Regions from separate parts of the Homo sapiens genome. Here regions 2, 3 and 4 are each linked to region 1. The links are contacts of gene promoters, found by promoter capture Hi-C in blood cells and fetal thymus (Javierre and others, 2016). All regions are on one chromosome and are shown on one strand. The core of a region is centred on a gene start or on the middle of the fragment in contact, and the rest is flanking DNA. Distances in the headings are between cores, read along the strand shown.

Evidence for each region. The method cuts DNA at HindIII sites, captures the fragments that hold promoters and counts their contacts. A CHiCAGO score of 5 or more calls a contact.
Region 2: a fragment that was not itself captured here is called in contact with the fragment with the promoter of IDH1 in region 1 in 1 of 17 cell types (neutrophils); the score reaches 5.3 in neutrophils.
Region 3: a fragment that was not itself captured here is called in contact with the fragment with the promoter of IDH1 in region 1 in 1 of 17 cell types (neutrophils); the score reaches 5.3 in neutrophils.
Region 4: a contact is called between a fragment that was not itself captured here and the fragment with the promoter of IDH1 in region 1, in 1 of 17 cell types (total CD8 T cells). The highest score is 5.9, in total CD8 T cells.

Annotation. Positions count from the first base shown.
Region 1 is chr2:208,250,573-208,256,320 of GRCh38, forward strand. IDH1 (isocitrate dehydrogenase (NADP(+)) 1) reads right to left here and starts at 4,499. Exons shown (of 10, transcript NM_005896.4): 1 at 4,367-4,499; 2 at 3,314-3,387; 3 at 858-995. The coding sequence starts at 979. IDH1-AS1 (IDH1 antisense RNA 1) reads left to right here and starts at 4,661. Exons shown (of 2, transcript NR_046452.1): 1 at 4,661-4,859; 2 at 5,331-5,622. RefSeq lists a silencer at 3,644-3,753 and an enhancer at 4,207-4,733. The HindIII fragment of the contact is 4,060 bases long and covers 2,769-5,748 here.
Region 2 is chr2:206,142,405-206,147,814 of GRCh38, forward strand. It overlaps NDUFS1 (NADH:ubiquinone oxidoreductase core subunit S1), which reads right to left. Exons shown (of 19, transcript NM_005006.7): 6 at 5,349-5,410; 7 at 5,127-5,257; 8 at 4,499-4,684; 9 at 2,488-2,622; 10 at 1,614-1,728; 11 at 282-427. Among named protein-coding and RNA genes, the nearest start is that of NDUFS1, 14 kb to the right of the region's middle. The HindIII fragment of the contact is 1,617 bases long and covers 1,127-2,743 here.
Region 3 is chr2:206,120,352-206,125,727 of GRCh38, forward strand. NDUFS1 (NADH:ubiquinone oxidoreductase core subunit S1) reads right to left here. Exons shown (of 19, transcript NM_005006.7): 19 at 1-3,925. The coding sequence ends at 3,834. Among named protein-coding and RNA genes, the nearest start is that of NDUFS1, 36 kb to the right of the region's middle. The HindIII fragment of the contact is 3,064 bases long and covers 766-3,829 here.
Region 4 is chr2:210,470,865-210,476,485 of GRCh38, forward strand. LANCL1 (LanC like glutathione S-transferase 1) reads right to left here. Exons shown (of 10, transcript NM_006055.3): 2 at 5,452-5,548; 3 at 1,095-1,212. The coding sequence starts at 5,532. Among named protein-coding and RNA genes, the nearest start is that of LANCL1, 3.1 kb to the right of the region's middle. The HindIII fragment of the contact is 475 bases long and covers 4,135-4,609 here.

The DNA of each region.
Region 1 (5,748 bases), core at 3,249-5,748:
TCTATGCCAGTCTTCAGCCACTTTACCCTTTTAAAAATTCTATCTCTACCTAAAGGTACAAAGAACAGAAGCAAGTTTATGAAAAACACAGCGAAAAAAATGAGAGAATTACATAGACTTTTGCATCTGTCCCCAGGCACTTTACACACAGGGCAAAGGGACACAGGATTTAAGGGAATTTTGCTGGAAAGGAGGGGTTCAACTAAGAAACATCATGAATTCTTTCTGCACTACAATTGTATGAAAAGGGCAAAAGGTGAGGCATGAAAAGGAAACAGGTCCATTGACTAAGTAAAGTGATAGAAAATTGAGTTTGAAATGACAAAATTGTGTTAACTGCATTTAGTTTACTGTTTCTTACATCCTCTCTTATTTCCCTTTTCTCAATACATTGTACTATTCTTAGCCACTGTTTTATTACAAATAAAACCTTCACAGGAAACAGAAGGTTAGAAGAATCTGAAAATCATTCTTTCCCTTATAATTCTTGACTTTTAGATGATAAATCCAGTTTTTCTAGCAGTATGTTAAAATTAGAAGATTCATCTGAATATATTTAGGCTTAAAACAAACTTTATTCACAAAACACAGCTATATCTATATAAAAAAAGCTAACTTCACCTCAAAATAATTCAGATTATATTCTTTTTTTTTTTCCTGTTTCTCCTTCCCTTTTTTTTCCTTTTTTTTTTAAAGTGATGGGGTCTCACTCTGTTGCCCAGGCTGGACTTGAATTCCTGGTCTTGAGGGATCCTCCTGCCTCTGCCTCCTAAGTAGCTGGGACTTCACGTGTGCACCACCATGCCCAGCCAGATTATCCTTTCTGAGTTTGCTACACGGAGGGGTAACTCATTTACCTATGTAGATCCAATTCCACGTAGGGAAAAATGAGTTTCTCTTTAATCAATTCCCAAATGATTCGTGTCATTTCATCTCCTTGCATCTCTACCACAGAACCGCCACTGATTTTTTTGGACATTTTGACTTCAATAAACCTAAAAAGAAAAAAAAAATACATGCCTTGTCATTTATTTCATTATAAAGTGAAATATATAAACAACGTAGTGTTTATATAAACAACGTAGTGACTACTAAAAGAACAATTCATGCAATTCAATTTATGTGTAGTTGAATAAAAAGCTAGTAACAGCAATTCTATTTACCATTAGAATTGAGTATCTTCTCTGAACAAAGTATTGTGTTATGTTTCACACGCGGTTTCTGAGCTAGCCCTCATAACAATCCAAAAAAATGGCCATCATTTCCCCATTTTACTTTGTTAAAAAAAAAAGAGCTTTCCCAAGGCCACCTAGCTAGAGCGTGGCAGAGCCTGACCCTATAACGTGCCCTTCATAATGCAATCATTATTCTCAACTACTGGTTTGTCTTAAGAAATGAGATTATTTCCACAATCTCATGTTTATTGAACACTTCAGTCCAACTCATCATTTTACTGGGCTCTCAAGATGTCCAGAATGGTGAGTGCTAGCATTTCTCCTCCTTTAAGAGGCTGTTTTTGTTATTTAATAAAAATAACTAGCCATGAGGAGATTCAGCTGGTTCCTGTGACCCATATTCAGGGAAACTTTAAGTCTAAAAGCGAGACGAAGAATTCCTGGTGGAACTGTTTTCCTAGAGATAACACAGACATTGGAGATGTGGGGCTAAATACAACAAAGTGATTTCTCAATTAGAAGAATCTCTATACAGTAGGGCCACTGCCCAGGACCCAAGCATGTCCCTGTCATCTTCTTCTGGCTGTTCACAGGCAAGGGTAAGCTGCTAGTGAGTGGGATAGGACAAACTGTGCATTGTCCTAGGAAGACAGCACTTTAAGGATAGGGTGTGGGGGTAGCATATACAAATCAATCTGATTCTCAGAAAGTGCAAGGTTGGACGCTTTGGAAGAAATGAAACTGTCCCAGCTTGTCCCTAGAGGCAGAAGAAGCTCTGAGCCTGCTAAAAGTTATCTATTCCTTCTAATGATGCTCTAATCGAAACTCTTTTTTAATCCAACAACACAGCTGCAAATTGCTTTTATTCTCTTAAGGACTAAAAAAGTCAAGAGAATTGACTTTAAAGAATTATTAGATAAGAAGCCTAAAATAGTCTTTCTTGAAAAATTGAGCTAAAGTAATTTGGTCTTTAAATAAAAATGTAATGATTAGTAGACAGTAAGCGTCTGTTTCTTGACAAGCCTGGATGTATTTCCAATCCCCAGGCCCATTTTCACTTCCCAAATTCGCAATTCTAGAATTCTTCTTACTAGTGTTTAGGAGATTCCTTTGGGGGAACCTTCTGGAACTGAACTAGACTAAAAGAAATGAACAGAATGGTGTGGATGAGTCAATTACTTCCCATTTGTAATGTCAAGTATAATTTGTAGTACAGCTGAAAGCATATGATTCAGTTCATGTTTGATTCCACTGTCACACCTATCCTTGTTTTAAAACAAAGCAAAAAAGGAGGCAGTGAACTTATCTGGTTCCTGATAATACACTTCCATGGCCATGTCCCTATATAGTATGATGCAACAGTCATGACATGGCAATTTATTCTTGATGGCAAATACAGTTAATAGAGGTCAAATATTGTACCTAAAATGTGAAGACTGATATCTTTTTAGTTCACTATTTCCTTCTCAGTTAAAGCAACTGTACTCTCTGCAGTAATCTTTCTTTATCTCATAATGCATACTTCAGACGCTTCAGGTTTTCCTCACATTACTTAGCCATGAAATTTTTACCATCTTTTAACTAAAACAGTGAAGCTTTATTGTTACTACCATGTGGAACATAATTGTATTTCTTCTGGATCTGATTTCCATGGGATGGGCTTGAGGCCCCACTGGACTGACTTCTCCACCTTTGTTGCCCCTCAGATTTTGTCTCCAACCCAATCCCAACTTCAGAAGGAAGGGCTGTTCCAAGACCAGCAGGCACCAGCTCATATGAAGTAGCTGAATCCTATCTCCTAACATAATTGTGCAATTCCAGAAAATAAACCTGGAATAACAATACAGAGTAGTTTAATGAAAAAAAAGAGCCATTTAATATTATTTTCATCAACCTCAAGTTTTTGGCCAGATTGTTTTTTGCCGAGTTCATGAACTACAATAATTTCTGGGCAAAAAGGATCTCTTGCAGATAAGACACTGTATTAAAAGAAACAAGGAAGCTGTTGGAATTCGTTGTTGGAAATATTCCTCACTCATTCCCTTGCAGTGCCTCGGCCTGCCCCCAAGACCAGTTAAACACTGTACTGCCACATCAAAGAAAGTACAGAAGAAGGGGGAAAATTTGCTAATTCTCACCTTGACAGTGAATAGATTTCTTATCACCCCAGTTCCTCCCAGTCTTGCAGACTCAACTGAATGTAGTTTATCGCCTAAAACAAAACAAGGAATAAAAGTGTTAACATACAGAACACTCACAGGAGAATTTAGCTGTTTTTAGTACCTGCCAGACAGCCCAGTTTATCCGGTTTAAAGTACAGTGCTGAGTGTACTCGGTGGGACAAAGGCCAATTTTAGGCCCGCAGGCACTTTCCAAATAAAGGTCATGGGAGCACAATTTATCTCTGCGTGTGCGAGGGCGTGCCCCCGCTTCGCCGCCCGTTAGCAGGTCTTGGGGTTTGCATGTCCTTGCTCTTGGCCTGCACCCGTCCTTATGGCCGTTGTGCAAGAGGGCTGCAATCAAGGCTGGATCGGTACCTCCTTCCAGGTCTCCACGCCCGCCCCTCCCCTCCCCTCCCCTCGCTGGTGCTGGGACCTTTTAAACTCCAGGCACCCGGAACTGGCGGGGGTGTTTCCCCCAGCCCCCTCTCGCCCCGTGTGGCCTAGCGACCCCTCTGAAGGCCGCTGGAGCTCCGCCCCTCCACGCCCCCTGGCGGACGCGAGGGATCGGCTTCAAGGCTATTCCTCGCCGCCTGAGTTGCCTGCAGACGCCCGTCTGCGGCTTACAGCCTTCTTTGCATCCAGCCCCCAGCTGCTGCACGTTTTCTTCCTCCTACACTCCAGGCTTAGTCTTCTACATGCATTCTTGCAACTTCCACCCCTCGATTTTCCAACCCAAGTGCAGACCTGATTTTCCCCTTGTCGTTGCATCCAACTTCCTCACCGCCCAGTTTCTCCCTCCCAGGCCCAAAAGCAGACCTTCTGCATATCCAAGCATCCAGCATCCCCTCCTTCCCTTTTCTTTTCCCATTCTCAATACCTGGATTTGTTCCCTTCTTTGCACGCAGGCCTTGACTCCCTCCACACCCAAGATCTGCGCTTTTTTCCTTTACCCCATTCCTGCCTTCTGCGGAATTAGAGCCACCCCTCCACAGCCAGGGACCGGGGCCGCCCCTTGGAGCCTGAGGTTACCTGCCGGGATGATATGCTGGCGAAGAGTTGGGGCGCCACAGCCGCTCACAAGCTCAGACTCACAACCACAGCCTGGCAATCCCAAACCGGACTCCCAGTGCCTCCGCTTCTGAAGTAGACTCTGCAGAAACCCGGGACCACAGGGTAGGTCCGAGCTTTTCCTCTTCCCGGCTTTGTCCCCTCCCAGGCCCCGCCTCCTCAGCCCACCTCCCCCAGCCCCGCCCCCGACACGCCTCCAATCGCCACACGCCAATTCCCGTGGGATGGGCGGAGTCAGCGAGAGGGGCGTGGCCACAGTCAAAGATGGAGAATCCATGGTGCCACTTTCCCGGTGATCCCGGTGGGGGAAGGGGTTGCCGCCCGGCAGAGATTCAGTCCCGAATCCCGACAGCGAAGAGACTTGTATGCCACCTGCAGGCCGGGGAGCGGGGCGCGCTGGGGCTGCACCACCCCGAACTTTGTAACAATCTAGAGCACCACAGAGTGTTTCCAGGTCGGCACAAAAGCGAACGGGACAGGGCGCCCTGGGCGGCGGCAGCTTGGCCGGCCCGCTGCCTAGCGCGCCCCCGAGGGGCGGTAATGGAACGTACCTTTGGCTGAAGAAAGAGTGCTCCCGGCCAGCGCGGGGTCGCCTAGGGGGTTCCGCGCTGCCTAATGCAAAGGATGGAAAAGTTACAGAAGCAGGTCCTGACACCACCTATGTCTAGGTCTTTAGAAACTCCATTGATTGTTTGCATTAGAAGATAATGAATGGGATTCTTATTATTTTCTTTTTTAAGACAGGGCCTTGCTCTGTTGCCCTGGCTGGAGTGCAGTGGAGCGATCACCGCTCACTGCAGCCTTGACTTCCTGGGCTCAAGAGATCCTCCCACCTCAGCCTTCCGAGTAGCTGGGATTACAGGTGCACACAATCACACTCAACTAATTTTTCTTTCTTTCTTTTCTTTTCTTTTTCCTTTGGTAGAGATGGGTTTCAGCAGCCCAGGCTGGTCTCGAACTCCTGGACTCAAGTGATTGGCCCTCCTCGGCCTCCCAAAGTCCTGGGATTACAAGCGTGAGCCACCATGCTCAGTTGGCGGGGGATTATCTGTGATCCAATGAAGTTGGACTAGAGATGTGAAGCCTTAGAAAACGGTGGATTGAAAAAAGAATTTTAGTCTCCTCCAGAGATTATATTTTGTGTGTTCATTGCTCTCAAAAACATGAAAATAAAGAGTATTTTATATTGTGATTTGTAGGACAATAGCATGCTTGTATATTGCTGCCCAGAATTTAATGCTCCAATATTTATTTATTTATTTATTTATTTATGAGACAGAGTCTTGCCCTGACAGGCTGGTGCAGTCTCGGCTCACTGCAACTTCCGCCTCCTGGGTTCAAGT
Region 2 (5,410 bases), core at 685-3,184, 2.1 Mb before region 1:
GGGTTTCGCCATGTTGGCCAGGCTGGTCTCAAACTCCTGCACTTAGGCGATCTGCCTGCCTTGGCCTCCCAGAGTGCTGGGATTACAGGCGTGAGCCACTGTGCCTGAGATACTTAGTGATAAGTGGATTCCTCTATTTCCTACAACTTCTGGTTTGATCTTGGTCTATATATGAAAATAAACTGGGGGATATGTTGGAGAATCCAGGTTGTCACATTTTATACATAACTTGTAACTAAAAAAAGAAAGGAAAGCCTAGATCCTAGCTTCATATTTCTCACCCAGCTCCTGCAGTGGGGAAGACCTCTTCAGTGCATAAGGTGTCAGAGTCCACTCTATTAAGCAAATCTTTGAGAGCTACCAGGGCTTCAGCATCCACCAAGCCACCTGCAATTGCTGCCACATCTTTGCCTTGAAAACTCTGCAACTAGAAACAGATGAAAAGGGCATCACCAAGAAACCTACACGCAGCAAAGACCACAATGAAATGTTCAGAAAATAAAACAGTACTTGTTTTCAAGTACAAAAAAAGTTAACAGACTTCTGATTAAAAGTTTTACAACATGCCCAGGCACACTGGCTCATGCCTGTAATCCCAGTACTTTGGGAGGCAGAAGTGGGCGGATCACCTGCAGTCAGGACTTTAAGACCAGCCTAGCCAACATGGTGAAATCCCATCTCTACTAATAATACAAAAATCAGCTGGGCATGGTGGCATACGCCTGTATCCCCAGCTGCTCGGGAGGATGAGGCAGGAGAACTGCTTGAACCAAGGAGGCAGAGGCTGCAGTGACCCGAGATCGAGATCGCGCCACCGCACTCCAGCCTGGGCGACAACAGCAAAACTCCATCTCAAAAACACAAAAAAAGTTGTACAACAATTATTAATTAATCTAAAAGTGAAAAGCTGCAGAGGTGTTATGTGGGGCCACAGCTAATAACATCAACTTAGAAGGAAGCTGTTTTATATTTAGGAACAAAGGCACTTCAAAATGAGGTCTGGAGAATGAAGTGGAACTATAGTTACCTTAAATGCGACCTCCTCTGAAGTATCTGCCTTTCCCTCTAGTGCTTTATGTTGTCTTTCTCTAACAAGAAAACTATTCCCTCCACTTGTACTCTGGCAAGCTTATATTCATTCTCAGATTCTTCTTTAAGAATCACCTTCTGTAGGAAGGCAGCTTTTTTTTTTTTTGAGATGGAGTCTCGCTGTGTCACCCAGACTGGAGTGCAGTGGTGCGATCTCGGCTCACTGCAACCTCCAAGGAAGGCATCTTGATATGCCTGTCCTAGTTAGGCATTCCTCCTACGTGCTCTCACTCATATTACTCCTTATATAATTACTCATAGCTGCATATAATAATTGCTGAATTGTGCAACTTTCTCTACTACAAGATTGTAGGATGCAGGAATGATGTGTCTCTGGTCTTTATATCCCTTAATAGCATAATATCTAGCATATGTCCTCAGTAGATGTCTGTAAAATGGAAGGAGATTAAATCATAATCTTGGTAAAAGTAAAAAAGGGAAGAAATATACATCCCCCCCTTCATGGCAAAGATGTTTCTTGATAATCACAAACACTATTTAACACTATTTATTTCAAATTTTACCATTCCAGCTACGCGAGAGAGCGCATCCTCCCAAGAAGTATAGGTTAAAAGCCCTTTTTCATTTCTGACCATTGGCTCGGTAAGTCTTTGACGTTTTAGCCCATCATAGGCAAATCTAGAAAACAGAAATTACACCATTGTGGAATCTTGCTAAAGAAGTAACTATAATTTTCAAGTTAAATCAACAAGAAATGTTATTTAAATACAGTACTGGTTAAAGTGTCAAATATCTAAACACCTAGATACAAGTAATTATTCCAGATATTTTTAGAGATGAACTAATAGATTTTATGAACTTCACCTAAAACTAAAATACCATCTGAAAGTTTGATTTCTTCCCTTAAATCATACAAAAAAAAGTTTGATTTCTTATACTTTCAGCTAACTGAACAATCTTAAAATTACAACACAAAAAAATCTGACAGCTAAAAAAGTCAAATCATTTTTATTTACAAAGCATGAGTATCTCTAAATATTTTATCAAAATTATATTGTGCAAACTCTTCTATTCAGCTTCTTTTTCAAGCAATCATCCCACCTCGGCCTTCCAAAGTGCTGGGATTACAGGTGTGAGTCACTGCGCCCAGCCTAGCTTCTTTTCTCTAATGAACAAACTGAAATAAGTTGAGAATGTATCAATCTACTTGAATTTCTCCATGTGGGAGGAAAAAATATCTTTCTCAAAGTAAATACAATATCCAGGGATTGACCTAGGACTATTAAAGTCAGTATTATCACATTATATAAGCAACTCAGATTCCAGTAGTCTATATTCAGTAACTAATTTGCAAATATAAAAGATAATTCTTCAAAATTATTATAAAATTTCCTTTAAATAAACTGTAAAAGTTAAGGAAAACAATATAGCATATACCTGGTTTTATCAGAGATCCACTCTTCATTGATGTCCTCATGCATACGTGGCAAAATCCTCATCACTTCTCCAGTTCTTGTGCTAACCACAATATTACTTCCAACCGCATCCATTACATCAATGGATTCTGTCTTTCTGAGAAACACATACGGTGTTTACTATGGTGCTTTTGGGAATAAAGAAAGTTTCTGTTACCTGGTTTACCAAAAAATTTTTTTTACAATTAATTCCCTTTCTGAATTACTTTAAAAAATGAAGCTTAGAGGAACTGCAATTAAATAAAAGAACCCCCCACCTTTTTTTTTGCCCTGGGGTCTCACTCTGTTGCCCAGGCTACAGTGGCATGATCATAATTCACTGCAGCCTAGAACTCCTGGGCTCAAACTATCCTCTCACCACATTTTAAAAATTTTTTGTAGAGCCGGTGTCTCATTATGCTGACCAGGCTGGTCTTGAACTACTGGTCTCAAGCAATCCTCCCACCTTGGCCTCCTAAAAGCTGGGATTATAGGTGTGAGCCACTGCTCCCGGCACACCCACATTTGAACACATAAATTCCTGGCACAGTAAGGAAGGCTTTAAAACTATTATCTGACACAGAAGCTAGTTTGAAGGGGCTCCAACTAGCCAAATCTGGGACGATTCAACAAGAGGGGCAGGATTTCTGTCTATGGGAGATTAAGGAGCTCAAAAAACCTTCCCACTGAAAAGCAAAAGTAAAGCTGGCCAAAAATGACAAAACCCACCATTTCAGCAGTTTAGAAATCTAAACACATACAATGTGGGAAGCTTTTATGCACTGAAAAACTGGTGGCTGGGCTCAGTGCTCCTCCTATGCTCCTCTCCACCCCCTCAAAATGGAATTTCTTCGAGGCCGGGGCAGGCTGTGAAGATGAGAACTTCTTTGGTACAGATGGAGACAACTCACTTAACTTGGAGCACGAGGCAAACTTGTTTGTGGAGGTGATACTTTGGAGGTCATCGTAGCTGAGGATAGCCAAGATTTTACCAGCCTAAGTTTGTAGTGGTAATTGCGGCAAGCATTCCTAACAGAGGCTGCTACATGTGCAGGTGAAACCAGAGAAAGCTCAACCTATTCATAAACTCCTGGATAACTCTGAGACCCAAAGGGCCCAGTGCAAAGTAATAGCTGGGCAAACTTGAAAACAGCCTCAACTTTGAATATGCTCCTCCATCCACAAACAGATCCATTGGCAAAGAACATAACTCTTATTAGGTCACGGTGTTTGAAGTACAATTATACCTGACTACTAAACTATGCAGACACAGGGGAACTCCTAAGAAGCCTCACTTAAAAATAAAACCAAGAATATTAAAATATGTTGAAAGAACCAAAGAAAATCATATTTAAAAATTGAAGGGGATGTATGACAACCACGAATCAGCAAGTAGAGATTCTCAGTAAGGACACAGAAATTACACAGAAACAAAAAGCCAAATCCCAAGTTGAAAAGTATAAAGTTTAAAATTGGATGATAATTTGTTATGTTTTAAGAACCTTAAAAATAATCACACCTCTTGCATCTATCTACTCCATTTCTTGGTTTAATCAGGAGAATGAGAGATATACACAGAAATGTGTAAACAGCAATATTTTTTACAGATTTGTAATCATAAAGAAATATACAAGCTAAATGTCTATTAGCAGAAACTGGCTAAATGACATTCCTCATAGTTGAAAACTTAATAAACAACAACATGGGAGACTATACATTTAAAATGTCAACACTATTAAACTCTTTGGAAGAACACATGAAAAAAATAATTTTGTGGTTGAGTACTTTAGAATTAATTTCCAAGAAAACTACAGTTAATTTGCACAGGTTCAATCCATTCTAACTACTTACCTTCTATTTAAAGGGTTTTACATAAACAAACAAAGTCAACAGACCAAAACAACTGAAACCCAGGAAGAAAATGAACCTTAATATTTTTTTGAATAGTAATGAATTAAGGACAAAAAAACAAATTGTCATAAAATAAAAGATACCTTGTTTCCCAAGGCCGGGCAGTAAAGGCATAGGGCTTAGAGGTTAGGGCACCTACAGGGCAGATATCAATGATATTCCCAGACAGTTCAGACATGAACATCTTTTCAATGTATGTGCCAACTTGCATATCATTTCCTCTGCCTGTTGTTCCCAAATCATCTACTCCTGCAATCTCACTTGCAAACCTACAAGATAAAAAATGTGTCATCAATGGTCAAGTCCAGCAAAATTATTTCCTTTCTTATTCATGATCACAAAGAGATGATTTTCCAAACACTAAAAAGAAATGAGTATATTTTTAAAGGTGAGCACAGTCCTAGAATAAAAAATAATGAAATGTTTGCATTTAATTGAGGTGTAACACACAGGCAGAAACTTGTACAAATCATATGTGTACAACTCACCAAGTTATGAGTGAAAGCAAATGCTTATAGATTTTAATTTTTAAATCCACCTGAAGTTGGTACTAAATGAAAGTGAACTTATTTTATTCATATATCAGAAACAGCATCCCTCTTCTCCCACCCAAAAAAAGTAGCCATTCTTTCCAATGTTATTATTCATCAAATTGTGACTATTAAGTATACAATTATATTCTATAATAGAAAAAAAAGGAAAAAAAGTTACCTGATGCAGCGAGTACACTGTATACATCTTGTCATGATGGTCTTTACCAATGGCCCAATGTTCTTGTCTTCCACAGCACGCTTCCCCTCTAAAAATCGGCTCCTATCATTTCCAAACATCATGGACTGGTCCTTAAGTAGATTATGAAAGAGTCAATCTCATGCTGCTAATAAAATTAAAATCTGAGACAACCAAAAAGATTGACAGAATTCTACTACATACCTGCAGATCACATTCACCTCCCTGGTCACAAATAGGACAGTCCAATGGGTGATTTGCTAATA
Region 3 (5,376 bases), core at 1,048-3,547, 2.1 Mb before region 1:
GGAGGGCTCAGAAGACAGAAAGATGAGGGAAAGTTTGGAACTTAGAGACTAGTTAAGTGGTTGTGACCAAAATGCTGATAGACATATGGTGAAGTCCAGAGTGATGAGGTCTCAGATGGAAATGAGGAAGTTATTGGGAACAGGAATAAAGGTACATCTATGTCATGCTTTAGCAAATAGCTTGGGTGCATTGTGTCCAGGCCCTAGGAATCTGTGGAAGTTTGAACTTAAGAGTGATGACTTAGGGTATCAGGGTATCTGGCAGAAGAAATTTCTAAGCAGCAAAGCATTCAAGATGTGGCCTGGCTGATGCTAGCAGCCTACAATCAGATATGGAAGCAAAGAAATAACTTAAAGTTGGAACATATTTAAAAGGGAAGCAGAGCGTAGAAGTTTGGAAAATTCACAGACTAGTCATGTGGCAGAGAAGGAAAAAGCACTTTGAGGAGAGGAATACAAGCAGGCTGCAGGAATACAGTTGTCCATGCTGGACTCAACTCATTTGCTCAAGCAATCCTTGTGCCTCAGCCTCCCAAGTAGCTGGGGCTATAGCTTGTGCCATCATGCTCAGCTATTCACCTTACATTGCTGTCCAAAATGTTTTCATTTGAGGCAACCTGGGATAGTAAAAGTACTTCTAATTAAACACTCCTGCCATTAGTATCTAGCTGTGTAGCCATAAATAAGTTATTTGATATTTCTTGAGTCTCAATTAATACCTACTATTAGCAGAGATTTTGTGAAGAATAGTCTTAATGTATTTAAAGCTTTAATGGCACTTATTTAGAAGGTCCTCAGGAAATGGTATTATTATTCCAAGGTCTTTCTAGATTGCCTTATTCACCTAAAGAGACTTGATCTTGAGCCTTTGTAGATTTTCTCATTGGTGATTCCTTCACTGCTTAGAATGTCATGATTCCACCAGACAGGTTACTCTCATCTACGTGTATTTTTCTTACATCTTTTTCAGTCTATTTTTCTCTAGCAATTATCTTCAATGTTTATGCTTACAATAACCTTAGTATTTGGCATTACGACACTAATATGTGCCCATGAGACAGACGGAGCACTACTTATCCCAGAGGAGGTATTATTTATTTATTTATTTATTTTTTGAGAGGGAGGCTTGTTTCTTCACCCAGGCTGCAGTGCAATGGTGTGATCTCGGCTTACCGCGACCTCCGCCTTGACTCTCAGTTCAAGCGATTTTCCTGCTTCAGCCTCCCCAGTAGCTGGGATTACAGCCATGTGCCACCATGCCTGGCTAATTTTTGTATTTTTAGTAGAGACAGGGTTTCACCACGTTGGCCAGGCTGGTCTCAAACTCCTGACCTCAATGATCTGCCCGCCTCAGCCTGCCAAAGTGCTGGGATTACAGGTGTGAGCCACCGCGCCCGGTCCAGACAAGGTATTTTTTAGAGATTATGATTGTTCACCACAAGCTGCCTAGCAGGTAGCCCAAGGATCCTGGATCAACTTAGCTATATAGCATCTTTTCTATCTGAATGCAGTATTCTCTTACCCACAACCATATGAAGTCTACACATATTCATTAACAGTATTATATAAAATACAAAATTGGGACTATGTCCCCTCAAGATGAGCACAGTGCTAAGAGGTAAGAGATGGGAAGTTTGTATTAAGTTCAAACACTTTTGGCAAGAATTTATACAATTTCAGGTAACTGGGCATTTTAGGCAAAGCACACAACTTCATGATGTATCACTGAGGAGGATAAGATAAACAGTTCTAAAAGCTGGTACAGGTGACAAATTTTGTGCAATTTTAAGTTTTACATTTTTTTGTACAAATAGGATCTTGCTATGCAGTCCAGGCTGGTCTTGAACTCCTGGCCTCAACTGATCTTCCTGCCTTGAACCCCCAAAATGCTGGGCTTACAGGTGTGAGCCACTGCACCTGCTGTTTTTAAAGATATTGTAACATACTATTATTCTAAAACCTTATCCTTTGTTGTATCAGAAAAACGACATCCTAGACTGGGCGCGGTGGCTCACGCCTGTAATCCCAGCACTTTGGGAGGCCAAGGCAGGTAGATCACCTGAGGTTAGGAGTTCAAGACCAGCCTGGCCAAATTGGTGAAACCCTGTCTCTACTAAAAATACAAAAATTAGCCAGGTGTGGTGGCGTGCGCTTGTAATCCCAGCTACCGGGGAGGCTGAGGCAGGAGAATCGCTTGAATCAGGGAGGTGGTGATTGCAGTGAGCCAAGATCATGCCACTGCATTCCAGCCTTGGGTGACAGAGTAAGACTCCATCTCAAAAAAAAAAAAAAAACAAAGGGAAAAAGGGCATCCTATACTTGGGCTGAGTCTTTAGTGAAAGCAGAAAAGAATAAGGATTACAAAACAAATAAATTGTGAACATAGTTTTGTTTGTTTGTTTGAAACAAAGTCTTGCTCTGTTGCCCAGGCTGGAATGCAGTGGCGCAATCACGGCTCACTGCAGCCTCAACCTCCTGGGTCAGGTGATCCTCCCACCTCAGCCTTCCGAGTAGCTGGGACTATAGGTGTACACCACCACACCCAGCTAATTTTTGTATTTTTTGTAGAGATGGGGTTTCACCATGTTGCCCAGACTGGTCTCCAACTGCCTGGGCTCAAGCGATCCACCCACCTTGGCCCCCCAAGTGTTGGGATTACAGGTGTAAGCCACCACACCCAACCTTAGATTAAAAAAAAAAATTATCTATTTTTAATTATCTCCTAATTGTAAAATTTTTACTTCCTTTTTTATTTTTTTAAATTCTCAGTGATCCTTATTCTGATTCCTTTTGGTTTTGACAATTAAAAATTATGAAAGCTGGTTGTTTTGTCTCCTATTGCTGAAATAATTTAGTTGATTTAACACTACAGATGGTGTTAGGATAATGAATACAGAACATCAATGAGAATCTAAATTATATCTCTTGAGACCTCCCTCATTCCAAGGGAGGTCTCATAAGTATACATGCATACATGTATAACTTATAAAAAAAAAAAAGCCACATAAATCACCATGACATTATAGAAGCAGATTCAAGAGAAAATAGAAAAATGTGTTCACCATTAAACTCAATACTAATTTTTAGAAGTAACAACCTATAGAATCAACATTAATGAGACGAAATAATATGTTGCAGTTAAGAACAACAGGCTTTGGAGTAAATAAGAAGTAGGTTTGAGTTGGTGACTTTTGCTGTGTGGCCTTGGGCAAGCTATTTAATATACCTAGGCTTCAGTCTTCATCAGTAAAATGAGATAATACTACTATCTCACAGGGTTGTAGCAAGAACAAAAGAAGATAATGCATGTAAAACCAGAGTGCTTAGCACATATAATAAAGCTAAATTATCATTAGCCATTGTTACTATGATTATTATTAATTATAATTATCCTAGATACATATCTGAGCATGATTATGTATTTTTCCTATTTACCCAGCTTGACAAGGTGCTTAAATCTTTTCTTTAGCACTAGAAAAAAGTAGGTTTTAATTGAACCTCTTTTCATTTCATCCATTTTACAGACAAATTATTTATGAAGATAAGCCAACAACTCATAATTTAAGGATCTCTTTATGTTCGTCACAAAGGTTATCAATGCTTTTAAGAGCATCTGCATAGTTTTGTTATTTAACCTTTACACACAATACATGTTTTTCAAACTGCAAAGTTGATAACTAATATCATTTTCAAATAGGCATAGTATAACCTTAAATATTACATGATTCAAATTATTATTATTTTTTTTTACAAAGAAATAAACCTGTAAAGGATCACTGCACTACAGTTGTCCATTAATTATCTGCGGCAAAACTGGGATCCTAGTAGAAGCTTCAGCATATGGATGGTTCCTCTACTGCCTGGGCACCCTCTGTGACAGCTTTGACACATTTGGCCATTGTCTGTGAGGCTCTGCTAATTGAATCTGAAAGATATTAAGAAAATGTCATTTTGATAATACAACTTTTTAAAAAGCACATACTAAAACTTTAATGGTGCACATATTCAGGAGGAAAAAAGATTATAAGGCCCTATGCAAGTATATATAATTATATGTAACCAACAGATTCCAACGATAAACCCCTTACTGGCCACATGCTTTCAATAACTATCCCTGGAAACAATCAAATAACTATAGAGCAGCTAGACAGTGCACCAGTATGCAGCCATTAAAAAATTATAGAAAAGTATTAAAAACATAGGAAAGGCCAGGCGCGGTGGCTCACACCTGTAATCCCAGCACTTTGGGAGGCCGAGGCAGGTGGATCACGAGGTCAGGAGATTGAGACCATCCTGGCTAACACAGTGAAACCCCATCTCTACTAAAAATACAAAAAATTAGCCAGGTGTTGTGGCATATGCCTGTAGTCCCAGCTACTCGGGAGTCTGAGGCAGGAGAATCGTGTGAACCTAGGAGGCGGAGCTTGCAGTGAGCCGAGATCACACCACTGCAATCTAGCCTGGGCGACAGAGCAAGACTCTTGTCTCAAAAAAATAAATAAATAAATAAATATAGGAAAAATGTGTACAATACTATTATTGAAAAAGGTTACAAAACAGCATATGTACTAAAATACATTGAATTGTCCACTTCATGAGTAAATTTTAGGGTACATGAATTATATTTCAATAAAGCTATCAACCCCCAAGTGAATAATCTCACTTTTTTTTTTTTAAAGAGACCAGATCTGACTATGTTGCCCAGGCTGGTCTGAAACTCCTGGATTCAAGCCATCTGCCCCCCTCAGCCTCCCAAAATGCTGGAATTACAGGCATGAGCCACTGCACCAGGCCTAATCTCACCTTCTGTTTCACTAAAAAATATATAGGCCAGGGGTGGTGGCTCACATCTGTAGTCCCAGCACTTTGGGAGGCTGAGGTGGGTGGACTGCTTGAGTCCAGGAGTTTGAGATCTGCCTGGGTAACATGGCGAAACCCCATCTCTACAAAAAATACAAAAATTAGCTGGATGTGGTGGTATGCGCCTATAGTCCTAGCTACCGAGGAGGCTGAGGTGGGAGGATCACTTCAGCTCAGGAGGCAGAGGTTGCAGCAAGCCAAGATTGTGCCACTGCACTTCAGCCTGGGTGACAGAGTAAAATCTCATCTCAAAAATTATACACACACACACACACACACACGTACATGTAAACAGTAATAATTACATATAAATAACAATAGTTAATTAATATAATATATATGTGTATAATGCATATGTATGTCCCTGGAGGAAGAGTGACTAAAATGTTAAAAATAATTATAGTTATTTCTTGATAGTGGGAGGGTAGTGATTTTTCTTTTTTTAAAAAAAAAAAAACTTTTAGGTTCAGGGGTACATGTGAAGGCTTTTTACACCAGTAAACTCATGTCACAGGG
Region 4 (5,621 bases), core at 3,122-5,621, 2.2 Mb after region 1:
ACTCCTTAAAATCAAATTAAAATTCCCTGGATTGCAAGCTTATTCCTCCTTGCCCACTCTTTAAAGCGAATGGGAAACACTGAGTCTCTAGACTATGCTTTCTTCCAGATTACACAGCTGTCTTTTGTTTCTCTACATTTGGTAAATTAATTGCAGTTCTTCAACTTTTCTTCTTTGATTTTTTTTTTTTTTTTTTTTTTTGAGATGGAGTCTTGCTCCATCACCAGGCTGGAGTGCAGTGGAGTGATCTCATCTCACTGCAATCTCCACCTCCCAGGTTCAAGTGATTCTCCTGCCTCAGCCTCCTGAGTAGCTGGGACTACAGGTATGAGCCACCATGCCCAGCTAATTTTTGTAGTTTTAGTAAAGATGGGGTTGCACAGTGTTGGCCAGGATGGTCTTGATCTCTTGACCTCGTGATCCACCCGCCTCGGCCTCCCAAAGTGCTGGGATTACAGGTGTGAGCCACTGCGCCCAGCCTCTTCTTTGATTTTTCTCTTTCTCACCTTTTTTTGACATCAATGCACTGTTTCTTCCTAAACCTCCTCCAGCCTCTCAATGATTGAGATTGGCAATGCAGCAATTGCAAACCAAACAGCAATGACCATATGGGAGGATTAGTTCATGGAAGTAATACTTTACCCTGTATGGATTCCTGTATGGATTCCTGTTACGGGTTAACTTTTTAAAACATGCTTCTGGACATATTTTATTCCTGAGATCAATCCTCATTACCTCCGCTTCAGGCATTGTATTTTGGAACTCTTCCCAATTCTTCCCACTGAAATTACATCTGCAAATTAACTATGTAATATTGAAAATCAATTTTTCTCCTCACAAGTATAGCAGCCATCCAAATGTCAGGCATGAATTACATGAATATGCTTACCATGCCCTAAATTCAGGGCACTATTAAAAACCCAGAAGATACCATGGTTGGTTGGGTTGAGGGCACAGCACTCTCCCAGAAGCAATTACTCATATGCAGATGCAGGAAGCATTTAAGGGTGTACCATTCAGACAGACAGCTCTCGGAAAAATGCTCTGGCTCTTAAGCACAATGCTTATGCCAGCTCACAGTCAGCACTTCATACCTGCCCAGCCAGTGTAACCGGTGCCATCCCGAGGGTCTGCTGATTTCAGGCCTCTCTCCATTTGCTGAAGAAGCTCCCGAATCTTATTGGTCAAGCGTTGTGAGAACTCAGGAGTCAGCTAGATATTAAAGGAAAACAAGTATCAAAATAATGTGGGTCACCCAGCTTGCTGGACTATAAGCTATCAAAGACAGAAAGGTATTTCTTTTCCACTTAGGACATATTTTTCCACCTGGAAGACTAAACAATTTATTTTCTATTCTTAAACAACAACATCACATTAACAAAATTTATAAAATACCGTTGTAACTTATACATGTTTTAAATAAAATTTTTAGTTAAATACTAAAACAGACTGCCAATGATAAACTGGCTCACAGTAATTTTCCACCTAATAGTAATCGTCTATTATTTAAACCAATATTATAATAAAGTCTTTTTATTAAATTAAGCACAAATCAGATGTTTGGTGCTTTCAAACTACTGGATTTTTAGTATTCAAGCTGCAGCAAGGTAAATTCCCTAAAGAAACATCTAATTGCTCTTATTTAAAAAAAAGGATTTAAAAAAAATGAAGTAGCCAAAGAAAAGCAAAACAAATTCATGTATATCAAGAGCCTTAAGCAGAATAGAAAGAATATCAAACTTAGCATCATAAACCCACGTCCAGCACAGTGTCTGGCAGAGAATACGGGCTTCACAAATGTTTCTCAATGAATGAGCCTGTCTACATCCTTACCCGCTATTAGCTGATCTTGCTCAACTCATAACTTCTTTATGTTTCAAATACCTCCATAAAGTCAGGATAATAATAACTGCCACGCCAATTTCAAAAGGTACTTTGGGGATTAAATGAGATAGTGTATCACAAGTCTTTCTCATTCAGGGATGTAAATGTTGACATTTTTACTAATTCTTTAGCAGATCAAGGGTCTAAGGCAAGTAATAGTTTAGATATGGATTGAAAATACACTAAGGCTGGGGCTGTGGGGTTAGTACCACCCATATGAAGGTCCACAGATGCTGTGCAAACAGTGAGGCTCACACAATCATTACGTTATTCTTCTTAAAGGCAAATGAAAAATAATTTTAAACTTCTGCACACACTGAATCAGTGTCTTAAAAAGTCACTGAAGGCCGGGCACAGTGGCTAATGCCTGTAATCCTAGCATTTTGGGAGGCCGAGGTGGGCGGATAACCTGAGGTTAGGAGTTCGAGACCAGTCTGACCAACATGGAGAAACCCCATCTCTACTAAAAATACAAAATTAGTCGGGCATGGTGGTGAACGCCTGTAATCCCAGCTATTCGGAAGCCTGAGGCAGGAGAATTCCTTGAACCTGGGAGATGGAGGTTGTGGTGAGCCGAGATCGTGCCACTGCACTCCAGCCTGGGCAACAAGAGCGAAACTCCATCTCAAACAACAACAACAACAACAACAAAAACCCAAAAAACTCACTTTATTGTCTCCCTCAATAATTTTAAGAACTTGCTGTGATTCTAAGACTTGAATTTCACATAGTAATTAAAATTTCAGAACAATGTGGGGGAAAGTTACAAGGGTATAAACATTTTATTTTACCATGTAAGGATTGTAGAAATAAACCTAACCACTCACATCAGAATCTCATTTTTAAAAATGAGATAAAATCTTAACACTGAAAACAGCAAGAAGGCAGTATCAGAATTAACAACAACAACAATAGTTTAAGGATACGTTAAGATTCACTTCGGAGGAGCATCCTTGATAAGGCAAATCAGACTTTCAACCACATCTGGATTATTTAATCTAAAGCACCACTATGATCCCTTATTTCACTCTTTAGAAGAAACGACGTTGTTTGACAGACACACTCCCATTATTTAACAATTTCTGCAAAGAGGTTAAGATTTCAACTAGACTTGAAAATACATTTAGTAGGATAAAATATACTTCAATGTTAATACAAAAGGCCTATAAATCTCAGCTAGATAGAAGAGTGCATCTATATTGAGAACACGTCATCTACTGTATATAGATCATATATAATTTATCATCTTGCCTGGCCTTCAAGAGATCAAGAATAATGAGAATCTCTCAGCCTTATGAAGGGAAGTTACTTTCTGTTTGGCACATTCTGCATTTAATAAAGGTGACCTCTGTGAGAATATTGATTGCTTGTGGTACACCACCAAATCATTCAAACTCTAGCTATAATCTGAAGTCTCTAAAAGTCCTTTTTTCTTTTCTATTTTTTTCTGACAGATGCCAGAAAACAGACCAGTTCCTTACTGAAATCTTGTGTTAAGAAATTAAGGAGGACAGATCTCCAGGGTTTGATCCTCCGTGTTCAACATTACACAATTTTAGAACTGGTATGCTACTTCCTTTCTAGGACCTGTCCAAAAACTACGTTAGGCAATAAACTACATTATTACTCTTGGGTCAGGGTTTAAATTTGTGAATTTTTCCCCTTAGAAACAAAGGGTTAAATTTGGCCCGACATGGTGGCTCACACCTGTAATCCCGGCACTTTGGGAGGCTGAGATGGGTGGATCACTTGAGGTCAGGAGTTCGACACCAGCCTGGCCAACATGGTGAAACCCTGCCTCTACTAAAAATACAAAAAAAAAAAAAAATTAGCCAGGTGCGGTGGTGTGCACCTGTAATCCCAGCTACTCAGGAGGCTGGGGCATGAGAGTCACTTGGGCCTGGGAGGCAGAAGTTGCAGTGAGCCAAGACTGTGCCTCTGCACTCCAGCCTGGGCTCAGGGTGAGACTCCGTCTAAAAAAATAAAAATAAAAATAAATAAATAAATAAATAAAGGGTTAAATTCATAAAAAGCATTTACTTTATAGGCAGTCTAAATAGGTACATTTTATTGAAGGTTTCTGTCACTAGGACAATCCTCAACTGTTCTCTTTGCCAAGTCAGTATGAAGCAGCAAGTCCTCCTCCCGCAAGACAAGACACATACTTCAGCTTGAGAATCTGCACAGCTAAGCAGAATGCAGGCCCAAATGGCCAAAGGGAATCCATCTGACCTGAAGATAATTATAAAAAGCTTTGTTTGGGCAGCTTAATACTAGTCTTAAAATAATCAGATTGACTCAAACTCCATATACATTTTGGTAGCCTTCTACCCTACACCTCTTCTTCATCTCTTTGATTCCTCCTACCTGCATTACTGACCCAAGTTAATCTATAATGTGACAAGTGTTTTAAGGAAAAAAACAACCATCAGACCCACAGATTAATTTGACAGGGATGAAATCTGTAAGGCCTTTATATCACATAAAATGTCTTTTGTATGGCTGACAAGTTTCAAAGAAATAAACTGGTAAAATTTTTAAAGCGTGTGCCTTGTTTCCAACTTAACTCATTTTCAAAACTAAATTTTATTTTTTTATTTTTTAGAGACAGGGTCTCTGTCACCCAGGCTAGAGTGCAGTGGTGCAATCATAGCTCACTACAGCCTCGAATCTCCTAGGCTCCAGCAATTCTCCCGCCTCAGCCTCCCAAGTAGCTGGGACTACAAGCTTTCCACCACACCTGGCTAATTTTTAAAAAAATTTTAGTAGAGATAAGGTCCTGCTGTGTTGCACAGGCTGGTCTCAAACTCGTGGCCTTAAGCAATCCTCCTGCCTTGATTTCCCAAAGTGTCGGGATTAATGGTGTGAGCCACTGCACCCAGCCAAAAGTAGGTATTCTTAAAAATATCTGTATTCCCTCTTAACAATTATGTTCACCCAATGAGGCATGAGAAAACACAGGCCCCTAGTATTTTACATCCAGGTTCTCTTTTGCACAGTGATTTGTGACATGCTAACCAGTTTAATTTACAAGTTTCTTTTTTTTTGTTTTCCAGCTGTGGATATGCCCTGTGGAGTGACACCGGTACAAAGAACTTCAGGTTTCCTAGGTCCCCAAATTCTCTAAGCACTAACAGTTTAAAGACGTCCTTACCATACACCACCGTTTGCTCTCATCATTACCCTGAACGCACTTGTGTATAATCACAAAGGAGTAACACGGCACATGTGAATACCGTTAGGATTCTTCACCTCTTTTTAAGAAGCAAACCAAAATACATTAAAAAATGCCAATTACATAGTAAACTACATATTTGCCAATTTTTAAAATTTATACTATCAATAATTGAGTTTATTTCAATTAATAATGTTAACAATGACACATTTAACATTATGTTAGAGCTCAATTTGTATATATTAACATGTATTTTTAAATAATTTACGTATTTATCGTCGAATCATGTATTTTTTTAAAGGGGGATGCTCAACTCTCTCAGGCAAAAATGAGCACCTTTCCGAACACCGTGGGGAGAGGCAGGGATGCAGGCAGACATATCCTAAACTCACCCTCCCGGCAGCATCAAAGTAGCCTTCGGCCAGGGATTTGTTATAATCAGCATAAGGATTCGGGAAGGCCCTTTGAGCCATGACGCCGGAAGCAAGCCTGCAGAACAGGGGAAAAACAGAAACTAGGTTGAGATAGGGGCCTCGGCCGAGTTGCGAGGGCGGCGGCGGCG